2 separate regions of the Homo sapiens genome follow, and region 1 is linked to region 2. Evidence: promoter capture Hi-C in human tissues and cell types (Jung and others, 2019). All regions are on one chromosome and are shown on one strand. Each heading gives the region's core, a stretch centred on a gene start or on the middle of the fragment in contact. The rest is flanking DNA. Distances are from core to core; before and after follow the strand shown.

The links. Contacts are between HindIII fragments. The study calls those that stand out against the background at their distance.
Region 1: a contact is called between a fragment that was not itself captured here and the fragment with the promoter of FOXS1 in region 2, in 1 of the 25 tissues and cell types used here (lymphoblastoid cells).

The regions. Positions count from the first base shown.
Region 1 is chr20:31,981,707-31,988,205 of GRCh38, reverse strand. All of the region lies in intron 1 of XKR7 (XK related 7), which reads right to left. Among named protein-coding and RNA genes, the nearest start is that of XKR7, 17 kb to the right of the region's middle. RefSeq lists an enhancer at 1-119 and a silencer at 1-189. The HindIII fragment of the contact is 6,526 bases long and covers 1-6,342 here.
Region 2 is chr20:31,843,390-31,850,317 of GRCh38, reverse strand. FOXS1 (forkhead box S1) reads left to right here and starts at 4,714. Exons shown (of 1, transcript NM_004118.4): 1 at 4,714-6,015. The coding sequence starts at 4,776. The coding sequence ends at 5,768. It also overlaps a transcript of DUSP15 not described here. RefSeq lists an enhancer at 4,773-5,330. The HindIII fragment of the contact is 12,044 bases long and covers 1-6,928 here.

The DNA.
Region 1 (6,499 bases), core at 1,830-4,329, 140 kb before region 2:
TGCATCACCCCATCTCTCTCCTGTTCTTCGTTCCTGAGTCACCCCAAGTCTCTGGTTCTAGGTCAGAGTTTCTGGCCTGCACCTCAGTCCATTCAGACAGTCAAACCTGGGCCCAAGCCTGGACCCATCCCTTTGACCTCAGATCCTGAGTCATTGTCTCTGTCTGTGGCTCAGATCAGCCTGTCTATTGTGTCTGTCCCTTGAATGCAGGGCTAGCCTATTTACCATTCCTGCATTTCTGTCAGGAGTCTGTTAGTCAGTCAGTCTCGCCCTGGAATCCTGGCTCAGTCCCTGGCTCAGTTCCAAAATCCTGGAATCCTGTCCCTTGGACTGTGGGTCACATAGTCTCTCAGATACTATGTCCTATTGGTCTGACCCTGTGATCCTGGGTCAGCCTGTCTGCCTGCCCTTAGAGGCCAGGAGCTTCAGTCTCTGTCCCCTGGATGCCAGACAGCCTGTCTATCCTGTGAATACGAGGTCTGCTTTTCTGTCTGTCTTGATACTGGGTCCACTTGGTGATCTGTCTCTCTGTGTCTTGAATGCTGGATCTGTTTGGTGGTCTGTCTGTCTGTCTGTGTCTTAATACTGGGTCCTCTTGGAGGTCTGTGTGTCTGTGTCTTGATACTGGGGCCGCTTTGTGGTCTGTCTGTCTGTGTCTTGGATGCTGGGTCTGTTTGGTGGTCTGTCTGTCTGTGTCTTGGATGCTGGGTCTACTTGGTGGACTGTCTGTGCCTTGGATACTGGGTCTGCTTGGTGGTCTGTCTGTCTGTGTCTTGGATGCTGGGTCTACTTGGTGGTCTGTCTGTGCCTTGGATACTGGGTCTGCTTGGTGGTCTGTCTGTCTGTGTCTTGGATGCTGGGTCTGCTTGGTGGTCTGTCTGTGCCTTGGATACTGGATCTGTTTGGTGGTCTGTCTGTCTGTGTCTTGGATGCTGGGTCTGCTTGGTGGTCTGTTTGTCTGTCTGTGTCTTAATACTGGGTCCTCTTGGAGGTCTGTGTGTCTGTGTCTTGATACTGGGCCCGCTTTGAGGTCTGTTGTCTGTGTCTTGGATGCTGGGTCTGTTTGGTGGTCTGTCTGTCTGTGTCTTGGATGCTGGGTCTACTTGGTGGTCTGTCTGTGCCTTGGATACTGGATCTGTTTGGTGGTCTGTCTGTCTGTGTCTTGGATGCTGGGTCTGCTTGGTGGTCTGTCTGTCTGTGCCTTGGATACTGGATCTGTTTAGCGGTCTGTCTGTCTGCTGTGCCTTGGATGCTGGGTCTGCTTGGTCGTCTGTTTGTCTGTGTCTTGGATGCTGGGTCGGCTTGGTGGTCTGTCTGTCTGTCTGTCTGTGTCTTGGATACTGGATCTGTTTGGTGGTCTGTCTGTCTGTGTCTTGGATGCTGGGTCTGCTTGGTTGTCTCTCTGTCTGTCTGTCTGTCTGTGTCTTGGATGCTGGGTCTGCTTGGTGGTCTGTCTGTGTCTTGGATGCTGGGTCTACTTGGTGGTCTGTCTGTGCCTTGGATACTGGATCCGTTTGGTGGTCTGTCTGTCTGTGTCTTGGATGCTTGGTCTGTTTGGTGGTCTGTCTGTCTGTGTCTTGGATGTTGGATCTGTTTGGTGGTCTGTCTGTCTGTGTCTCAGATGCTGGGTCTGCTTGGTGGTCTGTCTGTCTGTGTCTTGGATGCTGGGTCTGCTTGGTGGTCTGTCTGTCTGTGCCTTGGATACTGGATCTGTTTAGTGGTCTGTCTGTCTGTCTGTGTCTTGGATGCTGGGTGTGCTTGGTGGTCTGTCTGTCTGTCTGTGCCTTGGATGCTGGATCTGTTTGGTGGTCTGTCTGTGTCTTGGATGCTTGGTCTGCTTGGTGGTCTGTCTGTCTGTGTCTTGGATGTTGGATCTGTTTGGTGGTCTGTCTGTCTGTGTCTCAGATGCTGGGTCTGCTTGGTGGTCTGTCTGTCTGTGTCTTGGATGCTGGGTCTGCTTGGTGGTCTGTCTGTCTGTGCCTTGGATACTGGATCTGTTTAGTGGTCTGTCTGTCTGTCTGTGTCTTGGATGCTGGGTGTGCTTGGTGGTCTGTCTGTCTGTCTGTCTGTGCCTTGGATGCTGGATCTGTTTGGTGGTCTGTCTGTGTCTTGGATGCTTGGTCTGCTTGGTGGTCTGTCTGTCTGTGTCTTGGATGCTGGGTCTGCTTGGTAGTCTGTCTGTCTGTCTGTCTGTGTCTTGGATGCTGGGTCTGCTTGGTAGTCTGTCTGTCTGTCTGTCTGTCTGTGTCTGGATGCTGGGTCCGCTTGGTGGTCTGTCTGTGTTTTGGATGCTGGGTCTGCTTGGTAGTCTGTCTGTCTGTCTGTCTGTCTGTGTCTGGATGCTGGGTCCGCTTGGTGGTCTGTCTGTGTTTTGGATGCTGGGTCTGCTTGGTAGTCTGTCTGTCTGTCTGTCTGTCTGTCTGTGTCTTGGATGCTGGGTCTGCTTGGTAGTCTGCCTGTCTGTCTGTGTCTTGGATGCTGGGTCTGCTTGGTAGTCTGTCTGTCTGTGTCTTGGATGCTGGGTCCACTTGGTGGTCTGTCTGTGTCTTGGATGCTGGGTCTGCTTGGTGGTCTGTCTGTCTGTGCTTTGGATACTGGATCTGTTCGGTGGTCTGTCTGTGTCTTGGATGCTAGGTCCACTTGGTGGTCTGTCTGTCTGTGTCTTTTAGTCCCTCGACTGCTTGGTCCATCTGCTGATTTGTTGCTCAGCTCGTGGCTTGGTGTGACTGCCAGTTTTCTGGCCATCCTCCCCTGCCTGCTCCTCCTCTCCCTGACTCTGGGTCTCTCTCTGTCTGTCTGTGTCTCTCACATCCTCAGCTCCTCCATCTGTCGGTCTCAGCATTTCCGAGTGTGTGTTCTCGCCCCTCCCCACTCCCCCTCACAGTTCTGGGCCAAACACACAGCAGCTTCCAGTGGCTCCCCCGCTGCCTCTCCATCCAGGAACCACCCTCATGCTGGCTAGCTCCCTAGTCTCAATGCGGGCCAGGGTCTGCAGATCCCTACAGAGTGAACAGGGTGGGGCTGGGAGGCAGATGGGAGAGCCAGGACTGATGGGCAGGGGTAGGACATCCCCCCAGCTGAGCCCATAGTTAGTCTGTAGGTCTGCAGGGGGACAGTGTGCAGTGGTTACTAATAAGGATAACAGCTCACACTTACTGAGTCCCAGCTGGATGACAGGCTGTGCTGAGACTTTTTATACATATGAACGTATCCATCCCTCTTAACAAATCTTCGAAGCAGGGACTACCATTATCCTTATTTCACAGATGAGAAACAGACCTAGAAAGGGACCAGGACTCGTCCCAAGTCACACAGCAAGTTAGTGCCAGATCTAGGACTCAGCCCTGGCTCTTCATGGCCTCCTGAGCCAGAGCAGGGATGAGGAAGGACAAGTCTCATCCCACGGGATTCCCCTGTTGCCTCGGCTGCCTACGTGGCAGCTTCCCTCGCCTGGAAGGTGTGCAGTACGGCTGCCCAGCAGGATCCTGATAGGACCCCGGTAAGACACAATGGACCTCAGGTTTCACTTGGGATTATATGGGTTTAGAGAAAACTGGGAGACAGGCAACAATAGTAAGTGAAGAGTCAGGAGACCAAGGTGATTCCAGGAAAGCCCAGCTCCTCGATGGGCCTCAATCTTCTTCTATAAAATGGGCCCAAGCCCAAGTAACTGATTCTTGTCTACACCAAGGGATGTTCATCAAGCCCCTCCCCACCCATCCAACTCTGATAACATTAATGTTCCACAGCTATGTCCTGAACCCAAGTCCTTCTCTCTACCCTGGTGTCAACACCCTGGTCCAAGCCACCTCATTCCGGCAGCTTCCCTGGGGTGCTTGCTTCCATCCTTGCCCTCTTCAAGCCTTGTCTTCACACAACAGCAGGGGGATCTTGTAAACTCCTAGGTAAGGGCAGGCCACTCCCCACTACTTGTTTTTTTTTTTGAAATGGAGTCTCACTCTTGTCACCCAGGCTGGAATGCAGTGGCATGATCTTGGCTCACTGCAACCTCCACGTCCCGGGTTCAGGTGATTTTCGTGCCTCAGCCTCCCAAGTAGATGGGATTACGGGTGTGCGCCACCACGCCTGGCTAATTTTTGTTTTTTAGTAGAGACAGGGTTTCACCATGTTGGTCAGGCTGGTCTCAAACTCTTGACCTCAAGGGATCCACTTGACTCGGCCTCCCAAGTGCTGGGAGTGAACCACTGTGCCTGTCCACTCCCCGCTATTTATTTATTTATTTATTTATTTATTTATTGAGACAGAGTCTTGCTCTGTCACCCAGGCTGGAGTGCAATAGCACGATCTTGGCTCACTGCAACCTCTGCCTCCTGGGTTCAAGCAATTCTCCCTGCCTCAGCCTTCCAAGTAGCTGGGATTACAAGTGCCTGCCACCATGCCTGGCTAATTTTTGTATTTTTAGTAGAGACAGGGTTTTGCCCTATTGGCCAGGATGGTCTCGAACTCCTGACCTCAGGTGATCCGCCTGCCTCGGCCTCCCAAACTGCTAGGATTACAGGCATAAGCCACCGTGCCCGGCCCCCACTACTTTTAAAATTAACTCTTCACCATGACCCTTGAGGTCCAGGAGGACACAACCTTTGTCCCTCCCGGGGACCCTCTCCCACCACCCTCCCTCTCTCCCATGCTCCAGCTCCTGCTTCCTGAACACACCAAGCTCACTCCAACCCCAGGGCCTCTGCCTAGAAAGGTCCTCACTAACGCCTGTCAAACTCTCATTCTCCCATCTCAGCTCAATGTCACCTCTTCAGAGAGCTTTCCCAGCCATCCCCCTCACCACTGCCTGTAACCCCGCAAAGCACTTCTGCAGCCTCTCTGGTCACTTTCTGTCATGTTACCCTGTTTTTTTAAGTAACACACATCACAACCTGAAACCATCTCATTTACTTGTTTACATATTTATTGCCTGTCTTTCCCCTAGCACTGCAGGCTCCATGAGAGTGGGGACCATGTTTATGGTGTCCTCTGCTACATGCCCAGTGCCTGGCACATCGTTAATGTACAGTCATTTGTTGAGTGAGTGAATGAATGAAGAGAGTGATTATACTTTATAAACTCTGCTTTGTAAACTTCTTAAGTAAAAGTGGCCAAGAACAGAGGGAAAGAACCCAGGTGAAAGAGTCAGGCCTGGGCTCAGATCCTAGCTCCATCTCTTACTGACTATGTAGCCCCAGACAAGTTGCCTCCCGTCTCTGGACCCATCAGCCCAATACCCATTTACAGGGTGGCTGTGAAATCAGAAAGTAGTAATGTGTGTAAAACGCCCAGCTCAGTGTTGGGCACTTGATCAATGGAAGGTTTCAAGGAGCTTTTTGAATCAGAGGCCCCATCAGTAAGAAGGAAGTTTGGTTTCTGGCACAGCTGAGACCCACTTCTAGGCTGGCTTTCCCCTGGTGCTCGTTGAACCTGTCCCCGAGGGACACTGGGTCAGAAAGCACCTTTGGGACAGGTTCACAGGGCAAGTATTCTTTGGGGTCTCTGCCTGCCCCCCAGAAAATAACTACCACTCATCAAATACCTTTTATATGTACTTCGCTAAAATCTTCACTGTGGTCCTGTGAGGTTCATGGACATAATCTCCATTTTCCAGATGAGGAAACTTAGTGTCAGAAAAGGGAAGGTTCATTTGACATTTATTCACCAAGCCTTTTTTTTTTTTTTTTTTGAGACAGAGTCTCTCTGTCGCCTGGGCTGGAGTGTAGTGGCTCGATCTCAGCTCACTGCAACCTCCACCTCCTGGATTCAAGTGATTCTCTTGCCTCAGCCTCCCGAGTAGCTGGGATTACAGGCATGCGCCACCACACCCCAGCTGATTTGTGTATTTTTAGTAGAGACAGGGTTTCGCCATGTCAGCCAGGCTGGTCTCGAACTCCTGACCTCAGGTGATCCACCCACCTCAGCCTCCCAAACTACTGGGATTACATGCATGAGCCACCATGCCCAGTCCACCAAGCACTTTTGAGTACCTTCTATGTACCCCAAACTGTGCTAAAATGGCTCGTGGACACAATGGTGTGCAAGACAGACCCAACCCACTGGTGGAACTCAGTTTAATGGGGACCTGAAGATTAACTAAATCATCAAGTAAACATGTAACAACAAGCATGTTCCATGGGCTCCAGAAATGCTCCAAACAGAGGTCCCTGCTTCAGCACTGTGGATGGCAGTGCTATTGGAGGACAGCCAGGCCCAGCTTGGGAAGGGTGTGGCAGTCAGGGAAGGCTTTCTAGAGGAGGTGACTACTGAGCCACGATCTGAAGCAGACATAGGAGTTAACCAGGTAAAGGAGGCAGGGAAGGTAGCCTCTGGCTGAGGAAACAACATAGGCAAAAGTCCTGAAGTGGGAGGGAGCAGTAAGTGGTCAGAATGGCTGCCGTCAGAGAAGGAGGGAGAAGAAAGGGAAGAAAGCACGACACGAAGTGGAGACGTGAACCATGGTATTTGGCCTTTATCTTTTGTTTTTTCTTTGTTTGTTTGT
Region 2 (6,928 bases), core at 3,465-5,964:
GCAGTGATAGACTAGAATCCGAGGGCCTGGCTGCAGAGCCCACAACCCTAACCACTGAGCAGGATTGCTGGTTTCTCATGAGACGCTGCTAGGTTGTTGTTATTGTCGCTGTTATGGTTATTTCTACCTGCATCAAAATCTTTGCTGGGAGGAAGCTCCTAGAATCCCAGAAGATTTGCTGGGAGGGTCATGCCCTCACTGTACAGATGGCCCCAGCTTTTAACCGCAGAGCTCGACTATCAGTTCGTTTATACTGGAAGCTATTGTTTACTACTATTATTACTAGAATTCTTATCATCACTGATAGGGAGAGAGCACCCAAAATTTCCGAGGTAGAGGCTGGGACGACCTCTGGGTCCGGCAGAGTTTGAAGGGGAGGGTAAGAAGGCGAGGGGAGCTAGCGCCGCCCACGTCCAGCCCGTGCACCCTCTCTCGCCCCACAGCCTGCTGGCTGCACGTGTGGCTCTTCTCTCCGCAGCGCTGGTGCGCGAAGCCACCGGGCGCACAGCCCAGCGCTGTCGTCTGAGTCCGCGGGCGGCCGCCGAGCGCCTGCTGGGGCCGCCACCTCACGTTGCAGCAGGTTCGCTTCCCCGACCCATTGCCCAGCGCCCACGTGTTGCAGGGCCTGCCGCCTCACCTGGAGCGCGGTGTGCAGCTCTGGGTGGCTCCGGAGGGCGTGTTCACCAAGCGCCTGTGCCAGGGCCTGTACTGGCGCAGCCCAACAAGGTGGAGCGCAGGCGCACCTGCCACCTGCTGAACACACGCGGCTTCCTCCAGGCGGTAGGACGGCTGGAGGAGTGGAACAGAGTGGCGTGGGAACGGGGGCATAAGGACGCGGTGGGCAAAGGAACATGAACAGAGGAGAGTGGGCACATTAAATGCAGGCCCAGGGGGATGGGCCTAAGGGTGCTGGGCATGAAGTGGACATTGACACAAAGAATATGGCACAAAAGCACCAGGGATGGGAAAGAATACAGGCACCAGGAGGGCTGGGGGCACATATACGGATACAGGCGTATATGGGGTGCTGGCATGGAGAAGGCTTGAGGCGTTGGGTGTGCAGCATAAGAATAGGGCTTCGGTACATGTGTTGGCTTAGGGCATAAGGTGGATGTGAGGTGCACCAAGCACGAGATAGGTATAGGTGAGTGGCAGTGGGCATGGGTTGGGCATAAAGGCATGGGGTGGGCATAGGGGCCAAGGAAGAGACATAAGACCTGGAAGTGGGCACAGATGTGGGACATGGGACAGGCATAGGAACGTGGAAGTGGGCCTAGGGTACAGGCACACAATGGGATGTGGGCTTACAGGACTTGGGCATGGGAAATGAGCACAAGATGGGCACCAGTGGGTTGCCTAGTTCTTGCCCAGTCCCTATAGTCTCAGTGTCGTATAATTGTGTGCCCACCTGCAGGATGGTCACCGGACCCAAAGTACCAGATCTGTCTGTGCTTCGGTGAGGAGGACCCGGGCCCCACACAGCACCCCAAGGAGCAGCTCATCATGGCGGACGTGAGTCACTCCTTCCACTCCAGCCAAGAAGCACGCCCTCCAGTCCCCTCCAGACAGCCCTTCCCACACTCCCTCCAGTCCCAGCTCTGCCTCTGACACTTCTAGCACCCTCGGGTCTGTAGGACCCTACCTGGAAAATGGGGGTAGGGATGGGGCTGTAACTAGGGCTGTGACTTCCCATGGGAACATCCGAGGCGGGAAATGGAGAGGGTCTGCTCATCGCCCCACCCGCCCCCGCAGGTGCAGGTGCAGCTTCGGCCTGGGAGCTCGTCCTGCACTCTAAGTGCCTCAACCGAGCGCCCAGATGGGTCCTCAACCCCTGGCAACCCCGATGGCATCACTCACCTTCAATGCAGCTGCCTCCATCCTAAGCGAGCCGCTTCCTCTTCTTGTACCCGCTGAAGGCAGCCCCCAACAGGGGGGCTCCCTACTCCCACCCAACCCTGCCCACACTAAGCCCATAGACTTGGGGCCTCCCCCGGCACATCACCCAGGTCTGCCGGACGGCAGAGGTGGATCGCGGCCTTCCACTCCTCTGTCACGGGGCCCCGGAACTCGAGAGTAGGCCACACCGCCCCCCAGCTGGGCATGGGGCTTCGGCAGGAAACTGAACTTGATCTTGAGGCCCCAGAAAGGCAGCAACTGGAGCAGAAGCAAGACTTCATCTCTTGCTGACAGCCCAATTTGTCAATAGCGCTTTCCTCAGAGCCAGCCTTAACCTGCTGTTGAGTCCATTAAAACGTTTGCTTAAAGTTTTTACCAATAATTAGATCATCAGGGTTGTTTAGTGTGGGATCAAGCCATAACAAAACTGCCTAGCCTCTCAGGGGCCTAGAATTTACAGAACCTTCCTCCTCCCTGCAGCTAGTCTCTCTTCTTTATTCTGGGGGCTGGGAAGGATCCCAAAACAGGGAACTTGGCCGAACCCTGGGCTTTGGATGCTAACCACTGAAGTACCAGCACCTGTAGGATGCTGTCTTTGAAGAAACTGAGGCGGACCTCCAAATGCAGCCCTAAGGCAGAGGTCAACGTGGAAGACCAGCCCTTCTCCAAGCCCCACTGGTCTTTGCAAGCTGTACGTTGTAGGCAATCTGAGAACTGGAAAGGGGGACTACAACCAGAAAGTTGGTTACCCTGCCATGGGAATAAAGTAGCTGTTTTCCACCCCACATATCAGGCCTTTTATTCTTTTCTGAGTTCTGATTTTATTTATAGGAATCCTCTTACAGATGCCAATATTGTAAGTCTCTTTTAATGATACATTAATAAGCCACCTTCATGGGGGGAAAACTGTGATTCGATAAAGGACAGAAATCAATCAATTGCTGTTTGTTTAGTCATTTAGCAGACATTTCTTGAACACCTACTCTGTTCCAGGCCTCTGTTCCAGTGTCCAGTGTGTGACTCTGGGGGTACAGCAAAACAGCATGCTCTTTACTCTCTTGGAGTTCACATTCTGTTTTCTAGTGGGGACCCAGCGACTCTCCGCTACCCCTGCCCCTCACTGAAGAGGCAGTATTTAGGAATTACAGAATCCTAGGCTCATATCCAGCTTTGTCACTCACTAGATGTGGGACATCAGGGAATTTACTTACCTTCTCTGAGCCTCAGAGCCCTCATCTATTCAAAAGAAGCAATGAAGCCCTCCAGAGCAGGGTTGGTTGAAGAAGTAAGTGTAGGGTTGGGGAGGTGAGCTGGCCTGGTACAGAGTGGGTGAGCAGTGACTTGGGAGTGGGAGAGCAGAGAGGATGCCGTCCCCTCCTCCAGAAGGCCTGACTGTTCTGGGCCTGACTCTCTGGACCTCCCGACCCCAGGCTGCAGCTGGGGTAGCCTCAGTTCAGAGTGACAATCCGCAGCCATGTTCATATCCCTACTCCATACTAGGCTCTTGATGAGGGTGCTGCATTCTGTGTAAGGGGAACCTGTTGCCTCCCCACCATGGCCTGGACAGCTGAGGAGTCACCAGCTCCATGTTAGAGATGGGGAAACTGAGGCTCAGCCAAGGTCTTGAGGTGCCTCTTGGGAGGGAGAATGTCTCTCCCCAGATAGCTGTCCTTCCCACACCAGTCACTAGGGGGCGACAGGGATGCAGCAGAACTGAATTTCATGGGCTCTCCTTACCATCCTAGGTGCCCCTCCCTGCAGACACCCCAGAGCTAGGAGGATGGGGTAGGAGTGGTGTGGCCCCAAGGCCTCTGCACCGCAGGAGAAGGCAGTAGACCACAGGCCTGGGAGAAGAGGGAAAAGCAGGAGTAGAGGTAGGGATTAGAGAAGCCCCTGGGGCTTCTCTCACTCTAGGGGGACTGGGCTCAGGCCCTGCCTCTCTCTCCTCTCTCTCTCTCTCTCTCTCTCTCTCTCTCTCTATTCATTCCTTTCACTCCTTGTGTTTGCACCTGTGTCTCTCAGTATCTCCTTTCTCTCTGGCTTTGTGGATTTCCTTGTTTCTGCCTGCTCAGTGATTCTCACTTTCTCCGTATACTACGTGTGTGTGTGTGTGTGTGTGTGTGTGTGTCTGTGTCTGTGTCTCTGTGTTTCTGTGTGTGTATGTCTCTGTGTGTCTGTGTATGTGCTTGTGTGTGTGTCTGTGTGTATGCCTATGTGTCTGTGTGTGTCTGTCTCTGTGTATATGTGTGTGTGTGCTTATGTCTGTGTGTGTGTGTCTGTGTGTGTGTCTGTGTCTGTGTGTCTCTGTGTGTCTGTACGTGTATGTCTGTGTGTCTCTGTGTGTCTGTACGTGTATGTCTGTGTGTCTCTCTGTGAGTGTCTGAGAGGCTCTGGGTGTCTCTGTCCGTTGTGTCTGCCTCTGTCTTATCTTTGTCTCTCCCTCTTTCTCCCTCTTGTGATGTCTCTACCTCTCTCTGTCTCTATCTCTTTTTTCCCTGTCTCTGTTTCATATGTTTCTGCCTCTGTCTCATTTTGTTTTTGTCTCTGTCCCGCTCAGTTTCACATCCTGTCCCTCCCCAGCCACCACCACCCAGCACACGTGGGCTGAGGGTCTCAGTCCCTTCCTTCCCAACTCCTCATCCCTGGCAGCTGCTCGGCTTCCCACTACTGGCCTCTCCTGCCCGCCTCTTTTGGGCCTTGTGGGAGTGGGGCGAGGGAGGAGGGGAGGATGGCTCAGCAGACCCACCCCTTTTTGCCTTTCCAGGCTGGGAGGCTGGGCCAGTGGACCTTTTAACCAGCCTGGGCAGGCTATTCCGGACGCCAGCCCTGGAAGCTGAGCCTGACCCAGCAGGTCCCAGCAGCCTGGCAGCCCGGCCAGCATGCAGCAGCAGCCTCTGCCCGGGCCTGGCGCCCCCACAACTGAGCCAACCAAGCCTCCCTACAGCTACATCGCCCTTATTGCTATGGCCATCCAGAGCTCACCGGGGCAGCGGGCCACCCTCAGTGGCATCTACCGCTACATCATGGGCCGATTCGCCTTCTACCGCCACAACCGGCCCGGCTGGCAGAACAGCATCCGCCACAACCTGTCACTCAACGAGTGCTTTGTCAAGGTGCCCCGCGATGACCGCAAGCCAGGCAAGGGCAGCTACTGGACGCTGGACCCTGACTGCCACGACATGTTTGAGCACGGCAGCTTCCTACGCCGCCGCCGCCGCTTCACCCGGCAGACAGGTGCTGAGGGCACCCGGGGCCCCGCCAAGGCACGCCGTGGACCCCTCAGGGCGACCAGCCAGGACCCAGGAGTCCCCAACGCCACGACCGGCAGGCAGTGCTCATTCCCACCAGAGCTGCCAGATCCCAAGGGCCTAAGCTTTGGGGGTCTGGTGGGGGCCATGCCAGCCAGTATGTGCCCAGCAACCACTGATGGCAGGCCTCGGCCACCCATGGAGCCCAAAGAGATTTCCACGCCCAAGCCTGCATGCCCAGGGGAGCTCCCCGTGGCCACCTCATCTTCCTCATGCCCAGCGTTTGGCTTTCCTGCCGGCTTCTCAGAGGCTGAGAGTTTTAATAAGGCCCCTACGCCCGTCTTGTCCCCGGAATCAGGCATCGGGAGCAGCTACCAGTGTCGGCTGCAGGCACTGAATTTTTGCATGGGGGCTGACCCAGGCCTTGAGCACCTCTTGGCCTCAGCAGCCCCCTCCCCTGCACCACCCACCCCTCCAGGCTCACTCCGGGCCCCACTGCCCCTGCCAACTGACCACAAGGAACCCTGGGTTGCAGGTGGCTTCCCTGTCCAGGGAGGCTCCGGCTACCCATTGGGGCTGACCCCCTGCCTATACCGGACGCCAGGAATGTTCTTCTTTGAGTAAAGGCAGCCTCACCTCGGGCAGTCCCTGCAGGTCCCTCACCCTCCGGGCTGAGCCTGGCTCTAGGACCTGAAGAACTCTCGAAGGACCCAGCCCTGGTGAGCCAAGGACAACCACACAGAAAGCCAGGATTGAAGCGGTGCTCAGCCAGGCCCCTGGGGCCTCCGGACAAACTTGGGGGTGAGGGGAAGCAGGGCCTCTTGGGATTTACTCTGTGGCTCTCAGGGCCAATAAAGCCATGTGATGATGAGGGTCAGCTTGCCTGATGGCTGGGGGCTGAGGGCCAGGGTGCCTGCTTGTATGTGGGGGTGGCTGTGGCTGTGGGGTTGTGCAGCGGGGGCAGAGACCCTTGGTGGGAATATCTCACATGAGGTTTTCTCCTGCTGGGGACTTTCTCAGGGAGTTTCCTAGAAAGGGAGAGGAAGGGGAGGTAGGGAATGGGGAGCAGGGAGAGGAGGATACAGGCAAGGGAGAGACTGGGCAGGGGCAAGACTGGGCTGGCCTGAGGGACTGATTCTCCAGTCTCAGATGCTGGGACTTAGCCCCCGTAGGTGCAGTCATCATAACCCTGACAATTTGTGACACTGATCCTGTCCCGGGCTTGTATGTATCATCTCACCTGTGTGATTTGGAAAGTTGGCCCCGTTTACAGTGGTGGAAACAGGCTCGCCAGCTCCAACTCCAGAGGGCAAATGGGTGGCAGAGGGTAAATCAAAACCACATCTGTGTGGCTCTACCCTCCAGCCTCTGACCTGCAGCTTGAGTGAGGACATAAGGGTGGAGAAGAGGGTCAGGGCAGAGCTGGTGGTGGCCCCCAGAGGTGGGAGGGCTTTGCTGCAATCCTGGAAGGCCAGGGCTAGAAAGGCACCCTTTACCCATTGTGCAGACAGGGCACCTAGGGTTCAAAAGGCAGCACCTACCCCCTGTTTGGACTTCCCACATTAATGTGGGAGCTTCCCTGAGCCCCCAGCTCCATGAGGTCCTCTGGTGACTCTTTAAGACGGCATTTCTTGGGGCCAGCAGCATGGGCTGTGACTGTCCTAGGTACCATTCAGAAGTGACTGAGCCCTGACCTTTGACCTTCTCTGACTATCCCTTCGCGAGGAAGCAGGAGAAATGGGGATATTCTTGGTCCTCGTTAGAGGAACAGAGAAGGAATCTGA